3 separate regions of the Homo sapiens genome follow, and regions 2 and 3 are each linked to region 1. Evidence: promoter capture Hi-C in human tissues and cell types (Jung and others, 2019). All regions are on one chromosome and are shown on one strand. The core of a region is centred on a gene start or on the middle of the fragment in contact, and the rest is flanking DNA. Distances in the headings are between cores, read along the strand shown.

Evidence for each region. The method cuts DNA at HindIII sites, captures the fragments that hold promoters and counts their contacts. A contact is called where the count stands out against the background at its distance.
Region 2: a fragment that was not itself captured here is called in contact with the fragment with the promoter of MYO18A in region 1 in 5 of the 25 tissues and cell types used here (aorta, dorsolateral prefrontal cortex, hippocampus and 2 more).
Region 3: a contact is called between a fragment that was not itself captured here and the fragment with the promoter of MYO18A in region 1, in 2 of the 25 tissues and cell types used here (hippocampus and mesenchymal stem cells).

The regions. Positions count from the first base shown.
Region 1 is chr17:29,178,657-29,182,110 of GRCh38, reverse strand. MYO18A (myosin XVIIIA) reads left to right here and starts at 1,713. Exons shown (of 42, transcript NM_078471.4): 1 at 1,713-1,798. RefSeq lists silencers at 1,634-1,854, 1,820-1,869, 1,990-2,039. The HindIII fragment of the contact is 14,487 bases long and covers 1-3,454 here.
Region 2 is chr17:29,279,416-29,282,869 of GRCh38, reverse strand. The region is part of intron 2 of NUFIP2 (nuclear FMR1 interacting protein 2); the gene reads left to right. Among named protein-coding and RNA genes, the nearest start is that of NUFIP2, 13 kb to the left of the region's middle. The HindIII fragment of the contact is 8,027 bases long and covers 1-3,454 here.
Region 3 is chr17:29,256,152-29,259,605 of GRCh38, reverse strand. It overlaps NUFIP2 (nuclear FMR1 interacting protein 2), which reads left to right. Exons shown (of 4, transcript NM_020772.3): 4 at 1-3,454. Among named protein-coding and RNA genes, the nearest start is that of CRYBA1, 11 kb to the right of the region's middle. The HindIII fragment of the contact is 3,214 bases long and covers 82-3,295 here.

The sequences.
Region 1 (3,454 bases), core at 464-2,963:
GCCTGCAAGGTTCCGCTCAAATGTCATGTTTTTGGGGTTTTTTTTTTTTCTTTTTTGGAGACAGAGTCTTGCTCTGTCGCCCAGGCTGAAGTACAGTGGTGTAATCTCCGCTCACTGCAACCTCTGCTCCCCAGGTTCAAGAGATTCTCCTGCCTCAGCCTCCCAAGTAGCTGGGATTATAGACATGCACTACCACGCCTGGTTAATTTTTTGTATTTGTAGTAGTGATGGGGTTTCGCCATGTTGGCCAGGCTGGTCTTGAACGCTGGCCTCAAGTGATCTGCCCACCTCAGCCTCCCAAAGTGCTGGGATTACAGGCATAAGCCACCATGCCTGGCCTCAAATGTCATGTTTTTGAAGCTGCTCTTCTCACTCCTCAAGCCAAATAAGCCTCCCATCATAGCACCTATCTCATCATCCAAGTAATGCCAGCATGGTGAACCCTACTACTGTCACAGCTCAGGTCTACCTGTTCCCCATGTGATTTCCCTGGAGATATGCCATGTCTGATCTCCTTCTGTGTCACCCCAAGTGCCTGGGGCTGCACTTGGCACTTAGCAGGCAGTTTGTTAAATTGAATTTGAGTTGCATGTTATTCCAAAATGTGTATCCCGCCTGGGTCTATTCCTCAGGAACTCCCTAACTCTTACTCAACTCTCTGCTTTCTGAGCCTCCTTGCTCCAGCCTTCCCTGGTCTGTCAGGTTGGGCTGCCCTTGCCTGGAGAAGTTCCTGTTTGGGCTGTCTAGGGAGGTAGCAGCATTTGTCTGCTACACCCTTCTTCCTGCACCACCCCACTCAGTTTCTTCCACATTCTGGCACACCCCACTCCAGCATGGACACTGCCCAGGGAAGTGTCCCCATTTCTTTCTTTCTCCAAACTCTAGACATAGCACCTATCTTGGAGGCCTGGTATCTGGATGTCCCTTGGCCTCTCCCAGGAAGTATAAACTGTCTTCTTGGTGGGTACAGCAGCTCACTTGATATTTACAGCACACAGTGGACCCAGGGACAGACTGCATTCCAAAGAGCTTCTGAAAGTGTTAATCTTGGCATTGGTGAACTCCTTTAGGGAGTGAGTGGCACTTACAGCCATGGCTCCCGGGCCCTGGTACGCCTCTTGATCCACTCCATTTTGAGGCAGGGCTGTATCAGACCAAGCTATTGGGAGTCTGTTTTTACCTTGGGGAGTGCATTCTGGCAGTGCCATCTCGGACATGGCAGGCAGTACCTGGTCTGGACTGAGCCTGGGGCACCATCCAGCAGGGCCCTGTGTGTGCCTCTGCAGAGCCACCTTGGGAGGAGGCGGCCAGTAAGACTTAATTGCTTCCTTTAGACAGCACTACCTTGAACACAGCCTGCAGAGTTCGGTGCCTGCCTTGGACAGCCCCTCTTCTATACGTTCATCATGACCCTGGTGCCTGTCCTAGGCAGTGCCACTCAGCCCCTTTCGGACCCTTTTCGGACAGCCTCCAGTGCCCAGTGCAGACAGAAACTCCAGGCAGGGCCTCTCTCAGACACAGCGAGAGGGGCTTCGGAGTCCACAGCGGACGGAGGCTGCCAGGGCAGCGCCCGGCCCGCCTGGCCCACGTCTGGCGGCGCGCACTGGCGCTGCCAGGCAGGCCGGGCGTTTATCCCCACAGCCGCCAGCAGGGAGCTCCCTTTCGGCTCGGCCTGCGCGGTCGCTGGGGGCGGCGCTGAGCTGCGCCGCGCTGCGCTCTGCTCCATCCCTGACCGGGCCGAGGCTGCTGGATGCCGCGTCTCCGCTTCTGCTGCCTGCCGGGCGGGCTCCGGTGGCCGGTGAGTGCCGGTCGGCGGCGGCGGCCGCTCGGTGGCGGGCCCGGCTTGGTGGGGCGGCGGGGCGGGCTCCGGCCGGGAGGGAGGGCGGGCGGGCGGCGGGGCCCGCCGGCTCCTCCTCCTCCTCCCCCGTCCCCTGGAAGCAGCGGCCCGGACTCCCGGCTCCCGTCCCTGGCGGCGCCGTGGAGCTCGACGCCCGGGGGTGGGGGCCGATCGGGAGCGGCGGGGAAGGGGGAACCACCGGCCCTTCCAGCCAACCTGGGGGGCGCAGGGAGGCAGGACAGGGTGGCCTTCAGTGTGGGGGGATTTGGGGCTTGGAGGCGCCCAGGTGGCCCGGAGCTGCGGGGTGGGGGCTGCAGCCTCGAGGGTGGGGGGACTTCTCCTGCCCCCGTCCAGGCCCCACGATGGAGCGAGCGAGAGAGCGGGGCGCTGAGGAAGGCAGCGGGGAAGGGGAGCACCTCTACCGACCCTTTTATCCCTCCCAGCGGCCTTCACTCTTTCACTGCCGGGCAGACTGCGGGCTCCTCTCAAAGGAGCAGCTGCTAGACAGCTGGCAAAACAATGGAGACCCCGCTTCCCTGGGCCCCCTCCTCTTGGGACAGAAGATGAGAGGGTGAATGGTGGCAGGCTTTGGGGATTAGGGAGTGCAGGCTGTGCCCTGAGACTGAATGCTCACCTCACCTTTCCCTGCAGAGGGGTGGGGTGCGTGTGGGAAGGTCGGACAAGCTGCCCCAGGCCTCTGGAGAGACCGCCCCGACGCCCCGCCCTGCTAACCTGTCATGCCAGTTGTTTCGCCAATGGGAAGGGGAGGTGGTAGGGGTGGCTGCCCCCTCACCCTGCCCCTTGTTAGTGGGGGTGCGCTCCTTGGTCCCAAACCCGGCCAGGAGTGTGGGTCATGTTCCTGGGTGCGATAAGGCCCGCAGGGACAGGCCAGGCATTGGGGCTTTGTTTTGGGGGTGGAGATGGGGGAGTTGCCCTACTGCAAGGCACATGTGTCTTGCTGATTAGTTGGAAAGGTTGCGGCCAGAATGAGCTAGAGGTGGGGGGTGGGGGAGATGGGGAGGAAGACAGCCAGTTTGTTTTTGAGCGGGTATTCATTTTGCCTGACCACTTTGCCAATGGGGCATGTGTTTGGCGCTGGCCTCATAGTTTGTATTTGTGTGGGGAGGGCTGGGGGAATGCTTCCTGAGAGGGACTGTCCTGGCTAGGGCTTTCATTCCCTCAGATGGCCACCCCGAATTAAAGAATTGGATTCCCTCCCTGCTTCACCCTGCCAATGACTTGGGCTAGTTAGTGTGGGTTCGTCTTGTCTTTTGGAGCCCCTGGCGTGTCTGTGGCCGAGAAGGCCTCATCAGTGCCCCTGTGGCAAGTGAGCTCTGGGAAGTGTGTATGCACTGGGGTGTGCTGGAAGGGAGGGGAGGCCACCTGGGTGATTAAGAGCAAGATCACCTGAGCAGGACGGTGAGTACAGAGCCCATTGAATCAGCCGCCTTTCCCTTGTGCTTTGGAGCCCTTTTCTTGAGCAGGTTGGTGCCCTGTTGTTGTGGCAACAGGCCTGGCCTAATGTTCCCCACCCTTTTTAGTTCAGGGGCTACTTTCTATCTGGAGATATTGAAAGTTGCTCTCCTGAGGTCTCTGGCTTCCTGACAAGCCTCACTG
Region 2 (3,454 bases), core at 287-2,786, 100 kb before region 1:
TTTAAAGTTAACTCTAAAAGAAGTAATAATCAGTTGGGCTACTGGAATATCCTTTAAGAACATCTGTATTATTTTCTTTGTGCTTTAGTGTAGTTTTCAGATGTTCAGTAGTAATCTCTAAGTGAGTAGTTGAAGTTGGGCTTAGAATTGGAAGTTCTCTGCATTTCTCCTGACTTCAAAAATAAGCCCTTCAGCAACTTAATTTGGAAATAGTGGGTAAGAGAGTGCGTTATGTCACTTCTTTAAGAATGGTGCACTATTTATTTAACTTATATAAAGAAAGGTGTTTTTATTTTGTTTTTTGGTGGTTTTTTTTTTTTTTGAGATGGGGTCTTGCTCTGTTGCCCAGGCTGGAGTGCAGTGTCACAGTCTTGGCTCACTGCAACCTCCGCCCCCTGGGTTCAAGCGATTCTCCTGCCTCAGCCTCCTGAGTAGCTGGGATTACAGGTGCACGCCACCATGCCTGGCTAATTTTGTATTTTTAGTAGAGACAGGGTTTTACCGTGTTGGTCAGGCTGGTCTCCTGACCTCATGAGCCACCTGCCTTGGCCTCCCAAAGTGCTGGGATTACGGGTGTGAGCCACTGCACCCAACAAAGAAAGGTGTTTATTTGACTCAAGGTTTTGGCGGCTGGGAAGTCCAAGTGCATGGCGGCAGCTTCTGGCAAGGGCTTTTTTTAATACAGGAAGTTTTTAGATTAAGCAATTACTTGGAACCTTAAGCGTACTATGGATTTTTAAAAATTTGAGTGTTAAGTACAATTGAGGGTATGAAGTAAAGATACAATAGAGCATAAAAAGGGGATTTGTGCTGGGTGCGGTGGCTCACGCCTGTAATCCCAGCACTTTGGGAGGCCAAGGAGGGTGGATCACGAGGTCAGGAGATCGAGGCCATCCTGGCTAACAGTGAAACCCCATCTCTACTAAAAATACAAAAAATTAGCCGGGCGTGGTAGCAGGCACCTGTAGTCCCAGCTACTTGGGAGGCTGAGGCAGGAGAATGGCGTGAACCCGGGAGGTGGAAGTTGCAGTGAGCTGAGATCGTGCCACTGCACTCCAGCCTGGACGACAGAGCAAGGCTCCTTCTAAAAAAAAAAAGGGTGGGGGGTGGCGGGATTTGTGTGGATTCTAATTCCTTGTGTGGGATTTTCCTTTTAGCTGTTTTTTTTTTTTTTTTTTTTAAAGAGACAGGATCTCATTGTCACCCAGGCTGGAGTGCAGTGGCACTATCGTAGCTCATTGCAGCCTGGAACTGGGCTGAAGCTCTCCTCCTTCCTCAGCCTCCTGAGTAGCTAGTACTACAGGTGTATGCCACCATGCCTGGCCTCTTTTAGCTTTTTATATAATATGTTATGCCATTAACTTTTCTCTTTTTTTTTGAGACAGGGTGTTGCTGTGTTGTTGAGGCTGGAGTACAGTGGTGTGGTCATAGCTCACTGTAGCCTTGAGCTCCTGGGCTCAAGTGATCCTCCTGCCTCAGCCTCCTGAGTAGCTGGGACCACAGGTGTGCACCGCAATGCCCAGCTAATTTTTTTATTTTTATTTTTTTGAGATGGAGTCTCACACTGTCGCCCTGGCTGGCGTGCAGTGGCGTGATCTCGGCTCACTGCAACCTCCGCCTCTCAGGTTCAAGTGATTTCTCCTGCCTCAGCCTCCCTAGTAGCTGGGATTACAGGCATGAGCCACCGTGCCCGGCTGCCCAGCTAATTCTTGTATTTTTTATATATGTATATATACATATAGTGACGGTGTCTGTGTATTTTACCCAGGCTGGTCTTGAACTCCTGGCCTCAAGGGATCCTCCTGCCTCAGCCTCCCAAAGTGCTAGGATTACAGGTGTGGGCCACCATGCCTGTCCTAACTTTTCTTTTCCTTTCTTTTTTTTGGAGACGGAGCCTCACTCTGTCACCCAGGATGGAGTACAATGGTGCGATCTTGGCTCGCTGCAACCTCTGCCTCCTGGGTTCAAGCGATTCTGCCTCAGCCTCCCGAGTAACTGGGATTACAGGCATGTACCACCGTGCCCGGCTAATTTTTTTGTATTTTTAGTAGAGACGGGGTTTCGCCATGTTGGCCAGACTGGTCTTGAACTCTTGACCTCAAGTTCTCCGCCCACCTCCGCCTCCGAAAGTGCTGGGATTACAGGCATGAGCCACCACACCTGGCTGTGATGGCTCTTTTTTAAGAGACAGGGTCTCACCCTGTGACTCAGGCTGGAATGCAGTGGTATGATCCTAGCTCACTGCACCCTTGAACTCCTGGGCTTAAGGAATCCTCCCGCCTCAGCCTCCTGTGTAGCTGGGACCATAGGTTTGCGCTACCACCCATGTTGTCTGGGCTGGTCTGGAATTCCTGCCCTCAAGTGATCCTTCTGCTTCAGCCTCCTTAAGTATTGGGATTACAGGCATGAGCCACCATGCTTAGCTTGTGATGGCTCTTAGTGTACATACCTGGGACATATAACTGTGCCTTCTTAAAAGTAGTTATCTCAGAATGCTTAGCAAGCCTCTCTTTGACTTGACTTTAAAAGCTTTGAACACTAGATCCTAACTTTTTGAAGTAAACTTTTGATTTTGAAATGGTTGAAAGTCATTTGAAGCCAAGTCTTTGGAAATAATAATTGATATGAGTTGTGTGTTTGGTCACAGTGCCAATTTAAACTGGGTTGATCTGTCTTACATGGCTGTTATGGCACTGAAGGATATGAAGCATTTGAAATGCTGACATTTTGGAATATTCATTTAAAAATAGGCTGGGGCCGGACATGGCTCACACTTGTAATCCCAGCACGTTGGGAGGCTGAGGCGGGTGGATCACCTGAGGTCAGGAGTTTGAGACCAACCTGGCCAACATGACGAAACCCCATCTCTATGAAAATACAAAAATTAGCCAGGCATAGTGGTGCAGGCCTGTAGTCTCCGCTAATTGGGAGGCTGAGGTGGGAGAATCGCTTGAATCTGGGAGGTGGAAGTTGCAGTGGGCTGAGATCACACCACTGCACTCTATCCAGCCTAGGAGACACAGCAAGACTTCACCTCAAAAAATGAAAATAAAAATAGTCTGGGTACTGTGGCTCTTGCCTATAATCCTAGCATTTTTGAAGTGAGGCAGGAAAATCACTTGAGCTCAGGAGTTTGAGATCAGCCTGGGCAACATAGCAAGTCCTGATTTCTACAAAAAAATTTGAAGCATTAGCTGGGCATGGTGGCATGTGGAGGCTGAGATGGAGGATATCACCAAGCCCAAGAGGTCAAAGATGCAGTGAGCCATAATCGTGCTGTTGCACTCAAGGTTGTGCAACAGAGTGAGACCCTGTCTCAAAAACATACAACAGTTGGTATTAAGCAATTACTTACAGATCTGTGTTGAGGTAGATTAATATGGCACCAATTTGGGTAGACTGGAAGCCATTTTTCTGTTGACTAGAAGATCAGTTTCTTGGAATAGTGCAGGCA
Region 3 (3,454 bases), core at 439-2,938, 78 kb before region 1:
TATCCCCCCCCCCCCCACCTTTTTTTTTTTGAGACGGACTGTCTGTTGCCCAGGCTGGAGTACAGTGGCGCAATCTTGGCTCACTGCAACCTCCACCTCCCTGGTTCAAGCAATTCCCCTGCCTCAGCCTCCCATGTAGCTGGGATTACGGGCGCACACCACCACACCTGGCTAATTTGTATTCTTAGTAGAGACGGGGTTTCACCATGTTGACCAGACTGGTCTCGAACTCCTGACCTCAGGCAATCTGCCCGCCTCAGCCTCCCAAAGTGCTGGAATTACAGGTGTGAGCCACCGTGCCCGGCCAAGTATCTCTTTTCTACAGCCTTATTAAACTAACTACAAACATTTATTTTCCAATTTAGTTTTACTTTCAGTGCATATCAAAGTTGTTGTACTCTTCAGACCAACAAATTAACTTGAGGGCAAATTACATAGCTTTCCATGTACCCTTTTTTCCTCAGGTGCTAATCAAAGGCTCTGAAAATGGATACTGCTTTAGTGATGTCTGCTTTATTCTTAAAATGCTTATTTCTTTTGCTAGATGTAAAGATTTGGTGTTAACAAAAGTGGTTTTAATATGTAAATATGAATGAATGCCTTTAGTTTACCCTGTTTGTCTATTATTAATCTGTTTTCATTTATCCTTCATAGAGGAGGATCCTTTCATGATCTTGAATACATTTCATTAGATATTGTTGCATTTTAAGAATGAAAATACAACTGTTTTCTGTCTTAGATTAATCCTGCTGCTATGAGAAACTGAAAATCAAGAATGTGATGCACTTTTTACATTACTATATACCATACATATACCATAGGTTGCTTTGATACCTTTCCTGTAGCACAGCCACTAACAAGAGTGAATGAATTATAAAATTCTTTTTGGGAGGGAATCAATACAAGTAACTAATTCTTAGCTGATATTGTCCTATGAAGGACAATAACTTAGGAATATAAGAATTCTGTTAATAGTACACTTTTTGGCCTTAAATGTCTTCTACTACTGAAAATAGTTTAAATCTTAGCTTTGTTTCTATTATTCCCTCTCTCTGCCTCAGAAAGAGGAATTGGGAAGAATGGCTTAAAGGACGTGGTGTCATTGATTTGTTGCTGATCTTTTAGAAAACATTTGTCTATGTAAGCTGGGGACTTATTTTTTGTTTGTATATAGAGGGGAAATAGTGCTGCCCTGAACCAATCAGATTTAGTTTAAATCAAATCAATCAAAACTCCAGCTGTTTCTCTTGTCTTTTTACTTAGCAAAGGAAAACTTTAGTGAATGCTACTTGACAAGAAGAAAAGTCATTTCTCAAGCACATACCCAAACTTGAAGGTGATTGAACCCAAAATAATGGGTGGGAAACACCAAATGAGGTGGAGGAATGAGAAAGATGTGTGGGCCAAAGCTATCTGGTTATATTTTGATGTTGCCAATATCGCAAAGCCAAAATTTTAATTTGCTTATTTAATATATTTGTTGGCCAGAGATCTATTTTTATATCAATGTGCCTTGCATGTATATTAAAAAAAAAAAATTGGAAACGCCATGTAGTAATGCCTGAGATAGTCGATGGTTCTTACCACCTCACTAATTTTTATGCAGTATGAAATGCTCATTCTATTGCCCAACTGGTGCTCTCTGTTTAAAGTTACAGATCTTGCGAAACTGGAACTATTTTATAAGCTGGGGAAGTGATTTACTTTTTTTGTTGTATCTTTTTTGTTCTTAGTCTGTTAGTGGCTGTCCTGTAGTGGGAAATAGTAAAAGGATTCTTCACTCCCTTCTCCCCTCAGCACCTTCTTCAAGTAAACATTTCTTGTGTGCTTTGAAAAAAGTTTCAGCTTGCTGTCTCTTTTAGTGTTTTAAAGAAGTGTTATACAAAGCATTGTTTGCAAAATATAGGGAGATAATGGAGTCCACTTTAATTTGGAATTCTGTGTGAGCTATGATCCAAGTTATCAGCTCTTTCCAACTTTAAAAATTTTGTTAAAAGCACCTTGCTTAGAAAATTTTAAATATTTATGTCTGCAACAATTGTCTCAAAATAATAAACTGTGCAATTCTTGTCATTAAAAAAAAAAAAGATCTGAATTTTCCCTAATGTGACTTGTTAGTTTCTCTCTGTATTTCCTGCCAGTGTAAATGTGAAAGCTTTGCTTGCATTACGTTTTAGAAATGCATTTTGCACACTCGAATTTTGCCGAAGCTCCGTGAAAAGGTTAGATCTAAGTAGATGAATAAAGCTATGCACATGTTTTGAAAGTTTAATTTGTGTGTCATTACCAAAAGTGACCGATTTGTCCTTACTACTTTGCTGTTGTTAGCTTTACCATCTTTGGAAACTTGGCTCAAAGTTACATAGTTCTGGGCTAGCTCATCAGTGGAACTAGGAGAGAGGAAAACTGGCACCTATTTTAATAAAGTTCAATTTAAACGAGAGCTTGACTTGTATCTATTAAAGAGCTTTTCTTGAAACAGGGCAGTTTTATCAGCTTTACAAATCATTGGATGCTCTTCCTTAGTAATATTTTGGTTTATTTGATCAAATAGAAATGGAAAGTAATTCAAACTGAAAGACCCTTTTTTGTCATATGGAACTTGGTGACGATTTTTTGTCTTAAAGCTGGTTTAAAGGTAGGATAGGCTTTTACCTTTATTGCTTTAGCATAAATTTGGTTTACTGAATTGACTGGCTTGAGATTAGAATTATTCAGTTGTTTGTAAGATCAAAGCACTGGTTGTTTTAAAGATAACGTGTATCTTTTAAAAAATTGCCCAAGCTGATTAGAACAAGTTTAGGAGTTGGGTACATTTGGTTCAAGTGCTGCAATCTGTATGTACTAAATAGCTTTACTTTGTGTATGTGTACTTATAATGTGTAGATGTACTACTACCCAGGTTTTGTCAAATCATCTTTTTTAAAGTTTTTTTTTTTTTAATTGGTTCAGGACCTTTGTAGGAGAGGCTAATATGTTTAAGTAGAAGATATTACTGATAGCATTTTCCCCATGCTCCTACATAAAAAATAAATATTTCCATTTTATAGCTTTTTCAATATACAGAAGAGGGTTACTTCTTCATCAAGTATATTGTTGCCTTTGAGGACACAGCAAAACCCTTCTATATGTATCTTCATTGATAGTGGCAGTTAAAAACTAAGTTATCCAGTTAAGACTTAAAAGGTGACCCATATTAATTGCATGGCCTTAAAAGGCAGAAATGCAGGAGTGTAGCAAGCATCATTTTAGATGGCTATGGTTCCTCTTCCGCATCTGTCAGTAGTTCACTTATGTTCAGTCTTAGAACCTACTGGAGGAGTGAAGTAATTTCTCTGTCTCGTGCAGAGGCACTAAGGAGCTGAGTTACCTCTTAATCTGGGGGAATGGATAATAAGTGGAGTACAGTTATGTTAAAGGATGTTCCCCCCGCTCAAAAAAAAGTTTCAATGTT